2 separate regions of the Homo sapiens genome follow, and region 2 is linked to region 1. The links are contacts of gene promoters, found by promoter capture Hi-C in human tissues and cell types (Jung and others, 2019). All regions are on one chromosome and are shown on one strand. The core of a region is centred on a gene start or on the middle of the fragment in contact, and the rest is flanking DNA. Distances in the headings are between cores, read along the strand shown.

What was found. The method cuts DNA at HindIII sites, captures the fragments that hold promoters and counts their contacts. A contact is called where the count stands out against the background at its distance.
Region 2: a fragment that was not itself captured here is called in contact with the fragment with the promoter of AKAP7 in region 1 in 2 of the 25 tissues and cell types used here (IMR-90 fibroblasts and adrenal gland).

Annotation. Positions count from the first base shown.
Region 1 is chr6:131,131,464-131,136,716 of GRCh38, forward strand. AKAP7 (A-kinase anchoring protein 7) reads left to right here and starts at 4,004. Exons shown (of 8, transcript NM_016377.4): 1 at 4,004-4,319. The coding sequence starts at 4,301. RefSeq lists enhancers at 3,635-4,135, 4,572-4,631 and silencers at 3,962-4,051, 4,202-4,311. The HindIII fragment of the contact is 8,304 bases long and covers 2,660-5,253 here.
Region 2 is chr6:130,938,438-130,943,690 of GRCh38, forward strand. The region is part of intron 3 of EPB41L2 (erythrocyte membrane protein band 4.1 like 2); the gene reads right to left. Among named protein-coding and RNA genes, the nearest start is that of SMLR1, 110 kb to the left of the region's middle. The HindIII fragment of the contact is 5,157 bases long and covers 1-4,841 here.

The sequences.
Region 1 (5,253 bases), core at 2,754-5,253:
TTTCTTTTTTTTTTTTTTTTTGAAATTTATCTGGGAGTGCTGCTTTATTTTTTGACAAATCTGAGTACTTAATGGATCTGGATGCTTATAAAAGTTTTATTCATTCATTGAATGTCTATTCATTGAGAAATCTCTATGCATTTGGGAATACGAAGACTTTAAAACATAGTCTTTGCCTTCTAGTGGCGTAAAGTCTAATGTATGAAACAGAAAAATGTGGCAAAAGGGATGGTCAGAGCGGGCACAAGGAGTATTAAAGCCCTCAGGTGGAGTACCTAACCCAAGTAGAAGGGTGGGGTCAGGGACTGTTCCCCAAAGGAGGTCACTGACAGTTCCTACTGATCTTGACCATAGCTGCGGTCCCCTGTGACAGCAGTAGGACAGTTCAATGTACTGATGTGGGAAACAAACTCTATTTAATAACTGCTAAATGGTGCTGAGAATGAGTTAAGGTTAGAGATAATCGGCAAACTGACATAGAGGCTTAAAAATCTTAAAAATCCCTATAGGATGTTTGGTTATTGACAGAACCAGTTAATATTGAAAATCAATTAAATAGATAAATTCGGCCAGGCGCGGTGGGTCACAACTGTAATCCCAGCACTTTGGGAGGCCGAGGCGGGCGGATCATGAGGTCAGGAGATCGAGACCATCTTGGCTAACATAGTGAAACCCCGTCTCTACTAAAAAATACAAAAAATTAGCCGGGCGTGGTGGCGGGCGCCTGTGGTCCCATCTACTCGGGAAGTAGAGCAGGGAGAATGGCGGGAACCCGGGAGGCGGAGCTTGCAGTGAGCCGAGATTGCGCCACCGCACTCCAGCCTGGGCGACAGAGCGAGATTCCGTCTCAGAAAAAAAAAAAAAAGATGAATTCATAGGTATTAATTTGTTTTATGAAAGCAAAAAAGAACCAGGTTGCCCAATGCTTTAACGAAGGTTCACCTGCAGCACGACTCATGAGGGCATGGATCCTCTGGTCCACACTTCCCTCTCCCTCCGTATGTTCTGCCCATTCCTCCCTGACTATTAGTACACAGCCCTTTTCTCCCCAGAGGACAATATACACTGGCACAGTGCCAAAACAACTGGATTGGAAGGGTTTAGTTTTAAGCTACCACACTGTTCCTGGACCACAACACCCCACCGAGATTTTGAAAAGCCTGAGCCAATTATTTTCTAGAATGTCACACATTCTGGATTGGTCTGATTCTTTCCTCATCATGTTATTTTACTTGTACCTCTATCTCCTGTATTTCTGGAAATCTGAAAATTATATTTAAAGCCTTAGCAGCTTCAGGTGAAATATTTATGGCAAGACTACCTTGCAGTGATGATATAGCTTTCACAGGAGCTTTCACAGATTGTCCACCATTAATGATGCTGAGTTTAATCACGATAAAGGTGGTGACAACCAGGTTTATTTACATGGAGTAAAAATATGTTCTCTCCTGAGCAATTACCAAGTATTTTGTGGGGGGTAGTATTTTGGCAACTTATAAATATTTCGGTCCACATTAACCTTTCATGTAATGGTTTTAGAATATATTGATGATCTTTGCATCAATCAGTTATCAGTTGTGGTGGCAAAATGGTAATTTTCCAATTATTTTATGTCTCCTATATTTATTATTGAAAATTCTTCTGTGCAAAGCAGCTTTCCCATACTACTACTTCTAAAAAGTCATGGTAAATCTTTCTTTCCCTTTAATTTTTAGAGTAAGGAGACTAAGGAATTGCGTACTTGTCACCTTTAATGGTGGCCTACTAGTTTTTCTTCCTCATTTTTTGAGTATTATTATGGGTATATAGATTTTGTATTCAGTATGTTACAATAATTACAGGTGTTATCCTTTTATGATGTCAGATTATCTCCCATTTGCTCAAAGAAAGCTGTTTCTCGCTAGTCCTTGTGTTTTTGATAGTCCCCATTTGTCTTTGCTTTTTGGCACAAGAAGATGTCCAAGGTTCACCTTGTACTTCCCTTTCTCCCTGTCATTTCTAAAAGAAGCTCTGTGAAAAATTCCTTTTTCAGACTTGGGTAATTAAAATGTTCCTCCACATGGTAGGTGTTGATAAGACTCTGTATTCATAATACTGGTGGTGAAAAATATGTGGCATTTGGGCTGTTACCTCTGCTTAGGTAAGAGAATGAAACTTCCATATATCTCTTGGTACACACCACAGGGGAAGAAAAATCTTTCTCCTGCCCATTTAGTTCACTAGGTTGGACTGTGTAAATTAAATTGACAAAAGACAGATTAAGACGAGAAAAGGATTATTACACATGCACATAGATGCTTCACAGGAAAGAACTAAAAGCCCGAAGAGGCAGTTAGAACTGGGGGCTTCTATACCATTTTAACGATGATAAAGTGTGGAGAGGCTAGACAAAGGAAAAGGGGGCTTAGCCTTTTTGCAGTATGGGAAGGTTACTAGAAAATGTATGGGTTTGTTATGCAGGTAAGACTCATTCTCCTCTTTCTGGTATGGGTGAGTGGTAAAGCTTTGTTGTTTGTTTGTTTGTTTGAGACAGGATCTGGCTCTGTTGTCCACACTGGAGTGCAATGGCATCATCTCAGCTCACTGCAACCTCCACCTCCTGGGCTCCAGCGATCCTCCCACCTCAGCCTCTGGAGTAGCTGGGATTACAGGCATGGGTCACCACGTCTGGTTAATTTTTGTATTTTTGGTAGAGACAGGGTTTTGCTATGTTGCCCAGGCTGGTTTCAAACTCCTGGACTCAAGTGATCCACTCGCCTTGACCTCCCAAAGTGTTGGGGTTACAAGCGTGAGCCACTGGGCCCGGCCTGGTAAAGCTTTAAAAATAAAAATTTATGTCACCTTTACGAAGGGAAATTTATGTCCTGCTTTTAGGCAGAAAGGGGGAGGTCAAAGTTGTTCCTGAGTCTTTAGTTTCTGAACTGTTTTAAGCTCAAGAATAATCCTTATGCTGAAGTGGCATATTTGGGGTGGCATATTCTCATCCTCTTCACTATGAATGTGGACCACATTTTTGCAGCTTTTATTTCCGCAGTTACTTATGTTTCTTTCTCTGCTATTATATGATCAGCTCCATAAGTAAAAGACCTGTCTTACCTGCACATCCTCAGCACAGAGCTCAAGCATTAAATAAATATTAGGGGAACTGGTTGTACTTTCCTACCAGCCCATAAATGGGCATCAGAAACTCAACGTGTTAGAATTATTTGAAAATCAGAGTAACTAGTTTGCCGACTTCTAGTGTGCAGCCTTTACGCCAGCTGTTGTGGCTGTGTAGGGGTCTTCTTTTCTTCCATCCCTATTCTACGATGCATTCAACATAAGCGAAGTGTTATTATTCACGAAAGGCGCTAATTTGTGGACGGATGCACCTAATGTTCTTAACCCCTGGTTTCTTCGCACTAAAACCAATCCCAATAGCATTCCGTTTCAAGTGAAAGGTTTTTATTTTTTTAAACTAAGTAAATTTCTTTTTCTCCCAATTTACTCACTGCAGTACCTTATACTACAAGAACCAGCAACTGGTTTCCTCTTAATGTCTAAACATAACATCATTGTTAAAAATTAGAGACTTTGTCACAATTTGCAGTTTTTAAAAGTAAGGTAAATAAAGTATCTCATTATACAGAAGTACAAGGTCTCGTTCTTGTACATTTCGCTCTTCCCAAATATTCTGCAATCAGAACCCTGATTGCAAAACTAAGCACATGGATTCTCAAAAGACACCAGGCCAGAGAATTCTTTCATCCTAGTCCCAATCTCGCCCTTGAAAGCGTGGGAGGGGCAAGGCTGCGCCACGGGAAATAAATGAGGGCTGCCAAAGGCCGTCGGAGGCCGCGGGGCTCGGCAGGCAGGCGAAGACCCAGCGTCGCATTGCAGAGTCGAGACGACCTGGGCTGCCGTGACGCCGCAGTCGCCGGCCCTAGTTTCCCCCGCCCTGCCCGAGCGCGTCCGCGCCTCTCGCCCGAATCCGGGTACCACCGGCGACTCGGGTCGGCCCCTTCTGGCTTGTTCCGGCGTCCGGCCTGGCATGCGGGTGCTGCGGCTGCTGCGGCTGCCGCCGCCGCTGCTGCCGCTGCCGCGGGGGCTGCGGCTTGGGAAGCTCCGCGCTTCCGCAGGCCTGGCCTCCGCCGCCCGGGCCCCCGCAGCCTGTCGCTGGACCCCGCGCCGGCCCAGCGCACCGCCCTCAGGCCCCGAGCCCCGCCCTGGCCTCCGCCTCGGCCTCGCCTCCAGCCCCGGGACGCGGCCCGCCACCGCCGCTGCCGCCAGCCCAGACGCGCCGCCCGCATGCGCCGCGACCATGGAGCGCCCCGAAGCGGGTGAGACCGGGCTGTCCAGCGGGCCGGGGCGGGGGCGACAGGAGCCGCGGGGGCCTGGGCCTGCTCTGCGCTCGAACTTTGGGAGGGCCTGACCCGCGCCGGCCCTTCTCCGAGTCTCCCTCCTTCCCAAAAGGACTCAGGGTAGCACCGAGAAGCCCGGTGCAACCGGGGTGTACATCAGTGCTGCCTGTAGCGAAGCGTTTTAATGCACGCATTGTGGGTCCGACAGGAGGCGGGGGTATGAGCCCATCCCCGAGTTTCACTTTTCTTTCTCCCTTTCTCATCCTGTGACCCTTTGCACAAAGTTCATGCCAGTACACATTCCTTCCGACGGTGTTGATGTGGGTAAATGTAAACAAAACCTAGTAAAATTTCGATTTTATCTTATATCACAAATATTAAGCACCCGAACCACCATACTGTCTCATTTAGGATTTTCTGCCAGGTTTGGACATGACCGCTTTTAAAACTGGCGCCAAGTCTACACTAGCGCCCGGAATGAATTTCCAGTTTAGGTCAGCGTTTGTTGTGAACTGAACTTTGTGATAGAGCGAGTTAGGGGTGGACTTTCGGTAAAAGGGTCCGCAAACCAATTAGAGAAAAGGTGCTCCTCTGCAAGAGTTTCATAGGATAAACTCATAGAAGAGTATAAAAAGCATAAAAACGTTAAAGTGTACTATATAAATAGCAGTTAATCGTGTGAATATGTTGACAATTGTTAAGTGAATGATGACAGTGAGTTTTTGCATTTAGGAAATGCATGGGAATGGAAATTGTTAAGGAGAAAAGAGCCATACTCCAGTTCCTTGTTTAAGTGCCGTGGCTTTGCAATTCAGGATCCTGTTAGCATATCTGTATATTTTCCTTACTCATAAAGTTTAAGATGTTTGTGGAGGTTACTTCCTCCTTTCATCCATTTTCGGACACTATTAAC
Region 2 (5,253 bases), core at 1,013-3,512, 190 kb before region 1:
GGTGAATCTTTAAGGTCTTGCTTGATTTAAAACACACATACACAAAAAATGCTACAACTATGTAAGGAGGAAACTCTGAGGCATCAGAAAGAACCTAGAATTCAGAAGCAGGAAAGTTAAGCAGCTTTGGGTGAACATGGCCCTGAACCGTGCCTTTCAAAAAGGCTGTACTACTGGTAGTGTGCCCACCTGATCCAAAGATGCCAAAAATCCAGCCCTCTAGCCTCCTCCCACCCCAAAATGCCTTTATTTTTTTACTTCTCTTGGCTTCAATAGTGAAATTCTACCACTAGAATTCGACCACTAGATTCTTTAGAGTAAACAGGTATCTTCTTTTAAAATACAGAGATCTCTTAGAAGGCAGTACAGGTAATTCACACACTAAAGTCATTCACTCAAACTGCTGATCCTCTGTTACTTAGCTGCTTATCTGCTAGATTTGAAAAAGTAGGGATTTTGTTTCCAGAGGAAGAAAAAGTAGGCAGGAAGCTTAGAACATTTTTTGTATTATAATACTATAAAGGAACACCTGGATATCATCATGGAACTAGTAACAAGAAAGTCTAACGGCGAAAAGCACCAAGAAATAGAAAAGTAAATCAGTGTGAAACCCAACCATGAACACAGGAATGAAATCTTTCCCCTTTACTGCACAGGCTCCAACCAGGGGCAGAGGAGACTAAAAATCCCTCATGATATCACCAATGCTTGGTCCAGAAATGTTTAATGAATAAAGCCACAAAACTATATATAATAAATAGTGACCCAAACCAAGTGAATAACAAATGAATTGCACCTATTTGCCAAAAACCCAAATAACTTTTTTTTTTTTTTGAGGCTGAGTCTCACTCTATCACCCAGGCTGGAGTGCAGTGGTGTGATCACCGCTCACTACAACCTCCGCCTGTCGGGTTCAAGCAATTCTCCTGCCTCAGCCTCCCAAGTAGCTGGGATTACAGGCGTGTGCCACCAAGCCCGGCTAATTTTTTGTATCTTTAGTAGAGATGTGGTTTCTCCATGTTGGCCAGGCTGGTCTCAAACTCCTGACCTCGTGATCCGCCCACCTCGGCCTCCCAAAGTGCTAGGATTACAGATGTAAGACACCGCGCCCGGCCCCAAATAACATATTTTAAGGAGAAAAGCATTTCTATCCTCTTTCATCTCCTAGGACCCACCCCCCAATTAAACACACATGCAAAATAAAACGGATTATCTAGACACCAGCAGGGAATACTAAAGCAACAAAATGAAAACTAATGAAAAGCATCTGCAAGAAAACAATGAACTATGTCAAAACAGATGCTACTAAAGCTACCACAATCAAAAGTCTTTTTAGAAGATATCCAGAGAGCCTAATGGTAACTTTGACATGTGCTATATTCAGGGGAAGAGTCCACTTTATTTTAGTATGTGACAAAACATGCTCATCGTTCAACTTTTATTAAGTAGAAAATAGACTTCCAATTAAAGATGGTAGAATGAACATGCACACTTAGCTCTGTTCCCTACAAAATCTGTTCTAAGACAATGCAGAGTGTACATGTTACTGTGTACATATGCACACGTGATTCTTCCCCCAATGCAAGGAACCTGGGAAAAGCAAAATTAGGATAAGCAGACTGAAAAAGGATAGGAGGTAGGATCAGTGCATTTGTATTTTATGCTTTCTTTCCCATGGGTGGGAATCCACTTCTCCATAGATTTAGCAGAAGCAAAGAGCTTAATTTATTTAAACCCCAATAAATACACTGGCTTTGCAAGATGAAGATTCCTAGTTAATGCCAAGCCAAAGAAAGCCTGGATCAAAAATGGCAACACTAGCCCTGTAAAGCCAGGAAAGTGGTTTGCCCTGAACAAATGTTTCTGGTACATTTTTTTTATGTCATCCTTGATACGCAAGGATATATTAAAACCTTTTCTTTCTTGTAACCCCCAATTTTTGCTTGGATGCTACTATTTAAGCAGTTTTAAAATGAAAAATGTAATAGGTTAGGTTAGGGTATAGCTGAGTTTTTCCTAAATATATCTTTTTTTTTTTTCTTTTGGGAGATGGAGTCTCACTCTGTCGCCCAGGCTGCACTGCAGTGGCATGATCCTGGTTCACTGTAGACTCTACCTCCTGGGTTCAAGCAATTCTTGTGCCTCAGCCTCCCAAGTAGCTGAGACTACAGGTGCCCCCTCACCATGCTCAGTTAATTTTTGTATTTTTAGTAGAGATGGGGTTTCATCACATTGGCCAGGTTAGTCTCAAATTCCTGACCTCAAGTGTGATCTGCCCGCCTCGGCCTCCCAAAGTCCTGGGATTACAAGCATAAGCCAGCGTGCTCAGCCCTAAATATATCATTCTTTGAAATCCAAAAGTTTCTCCTCAGTGAAGACATGCATACCGACTCCAGCCTATAGTAACTTGGCACTTCTGTGCTTTTGTATTACTTTTCAGAACTATAAACAATACTTTATCAATTTGACTCATATGTTTATGTATGTGGATATAAGTGTGTGTGTGTATAAACACCTGCTATTACTGTCTTATATGTAAAGCTTATCTCTGAAAGTAAAATTCATAAATAAAAGGAAAAATGATACTTCATACTTTTCTTTTTATCTTCTCAGCTCAAGTAGGAACCAAATCAATATCTGGGGATAAAAATTATTTCTGAACACATAGGATATATTTAAATAAATACTATTTTGAGAGGAAATTTGTAAAATAGTGTGAAAATATGACTTCCTTAACTTCTCATTTTTCTTAAAAATTATATACCATCACAAAGGGAGACTAGCAACCCTGTCATTAATTTTTTAAAAATGAAAACCCAGGATTTTTGTCCAACTTTTTCTACTACTCACTTTAAACAGCAAGACTTAGCTTAAGTCTCTAATGAATTATAATCTCTTTTAAAAGACGGAGAATTGACTATAACTGTTAGATAATAAAGAGGCTAGTATCGAACTTCTAGCCAGAAGCGCACACCAAATTTTTTTAAGTATCTTTCATAAAAGTTGCTAAGCACCATATTTCCATGAAAACTTATTTCAAAAACCATGAGCAGCAAACTTCTGTAGGCTAGCACATTCTCTGTAAACTATTTGCCTAGAATGAATTTTGACATTTGATTCATACAGGCTTTCTGTGCTACGGAAGAATAGCTTATCAGAGCAGTCCTATTTGATTCACTTGAAATTGTTGCTGACAGAAATCTGGAAGGAGATGTCAGTGAATACAACAAGTAGATGGTGGTAACACTCAGATTAAGTTTCCTCTCTGTGCAAATAACCAGACTGATGCACAAAATCAGGCTTAATCTCAAAACAGGCTAAAATGGCATATTCTGCAAATGAAGTACACTTATGAGATGTAGTTTGATTACTAGACAGAATGGAGCTTGTGCCCTCAGGTGCCTCTCCAGAATATAAGAGTCAAAACAAAATAAAAGATAAATTAATACTCCTAATCATAATTTTTCTAACACAGTTCAGAGTTGATGTATAACTCCATTGTAGAGCATAATTAAATAAATATTTAAATAGCAAACTGACAGATCATTTATGTCAGTGCTTTAATAATTTAGCCACCTTGCATCATAAAACTATTTTTCTGAATAATCCACGGATTTTTACAGACTGTATTTTATTATGTTATACCGCATTCAATCCCTTTAAGCTCCAAATGCTGGCATATTATGTTATAGTGCTATAAATACTAATGATAAATTCTGTCCATGTTTCCACTTGGCCACAGAGTATGTGCTCCTGCTAAGGGAATGGATGAATAGAATGCACCTAATTCCAGCTTTTGTGTGATAAATTAAACAACATTCACAGGTGGAGACAAGATTCTCAAATCCCTGTCCCCCATATCATGCCTGGCAGCTGGGAAGGTGGAGGTAGGATGAGGAAAGCAAATAATTGGTAAAATTTCCTGATAGCTGAAAAACAAAAACTATGTCAGTAACATCATCTTAAATTTGTTCAGAAGAACAGGAAGCAATAGAAAAGAAATCAAAGACTAGAAATAAAACAGTAATGATGACAGAATGATTCTAAACACAGTGGATTTAACAAAAGATACTGATAATTGTTGTTGCATGAGAGAGTGTAATTAGATTACATCCCTTCATTTGATGAACTCTGGCAAAGATTTTTTAAATTTTACTGCCTACATATATTTTTTTAAATTATACTTTTAAGTTCTGGGATATGTGTGCAGAACGTGCAGGTTTGTTACATAGGTATACATGTGCCATGGTGGTTTGCTGCACCCATTAACCTGTCATCTACATTAGGTATTTCTCCTAATGCTATCCCTCCCCTAGCTTCCACCACCTGACAGGCCCTGGTGTGTGATGTTCCCCTCTCTGTGTCCATGTGTTCTCATTGTTCAACTCCCACTTATGAGTGAGAACATGCGGTGTTTGGTTTTCTGTTCCTGTTTTGCTGAGAATGATGGTTTCCAGCTTCATCCATGTCCCTGCAAAGGACACGAACTGATGCTTTTTTATGGCTGCATAGTATTCTACGGTGTATATGTGCCACATTTTCTTTATCCAGTCTATCATTGATGGGCATTTGGGTTGGTTCCAAGTCTTTGCTACTGTGAATAGTGCTGCAATAAACATACATGTGCATGTGTCTTTTTGGTAGAATGATTGATAATCCTTTGGGTATATACCCAGTAATGGGATTGCTGGGTCAAATGGTATTTCTGGTTCTAGATCCTTAAGGATCTTCCACACTGTCTTCCACAATGGTTGAACTAATTCATGCTCCCACCAACAGTGTAAAAGCGTTCCTATTTCTCCACATCCTCTCCAGCATCTGTTGTCTCCTGACTTTTTAATGATCGCCATTCTAACTGGCGTGAGTACATATTTTAAAGTAACAAAAATGTGTCCAAACTGATTTTAAAGCATAAATTTTATTCTGAAAATAACTTTTCCCAACATTTCTAACCTTACTCGACCCTGAAGTAATTTTCATTCCAAAACAGAGAAATAATTCAAAGATCTAGTTCCTGTTCTACTACCACCCTCTGATGAGGGTAAAAACTTACTAAGTGGTAAATCACCAAGGAGTTGGCATGGCTGCCAGTGTGTAGCATGCCTATCCAGCAAGAGGTGGACAGTTTCTTCAAAAGTATGTCAGGATGGCTGCTCACAGTTAGAAATTACTTTCAAGTTTAATGCTTTTAAAATACCAGTGATGCAGGGGCAAACAAAGTAATCCCCTGGTTTTGAAACCAAATGTGGAGAA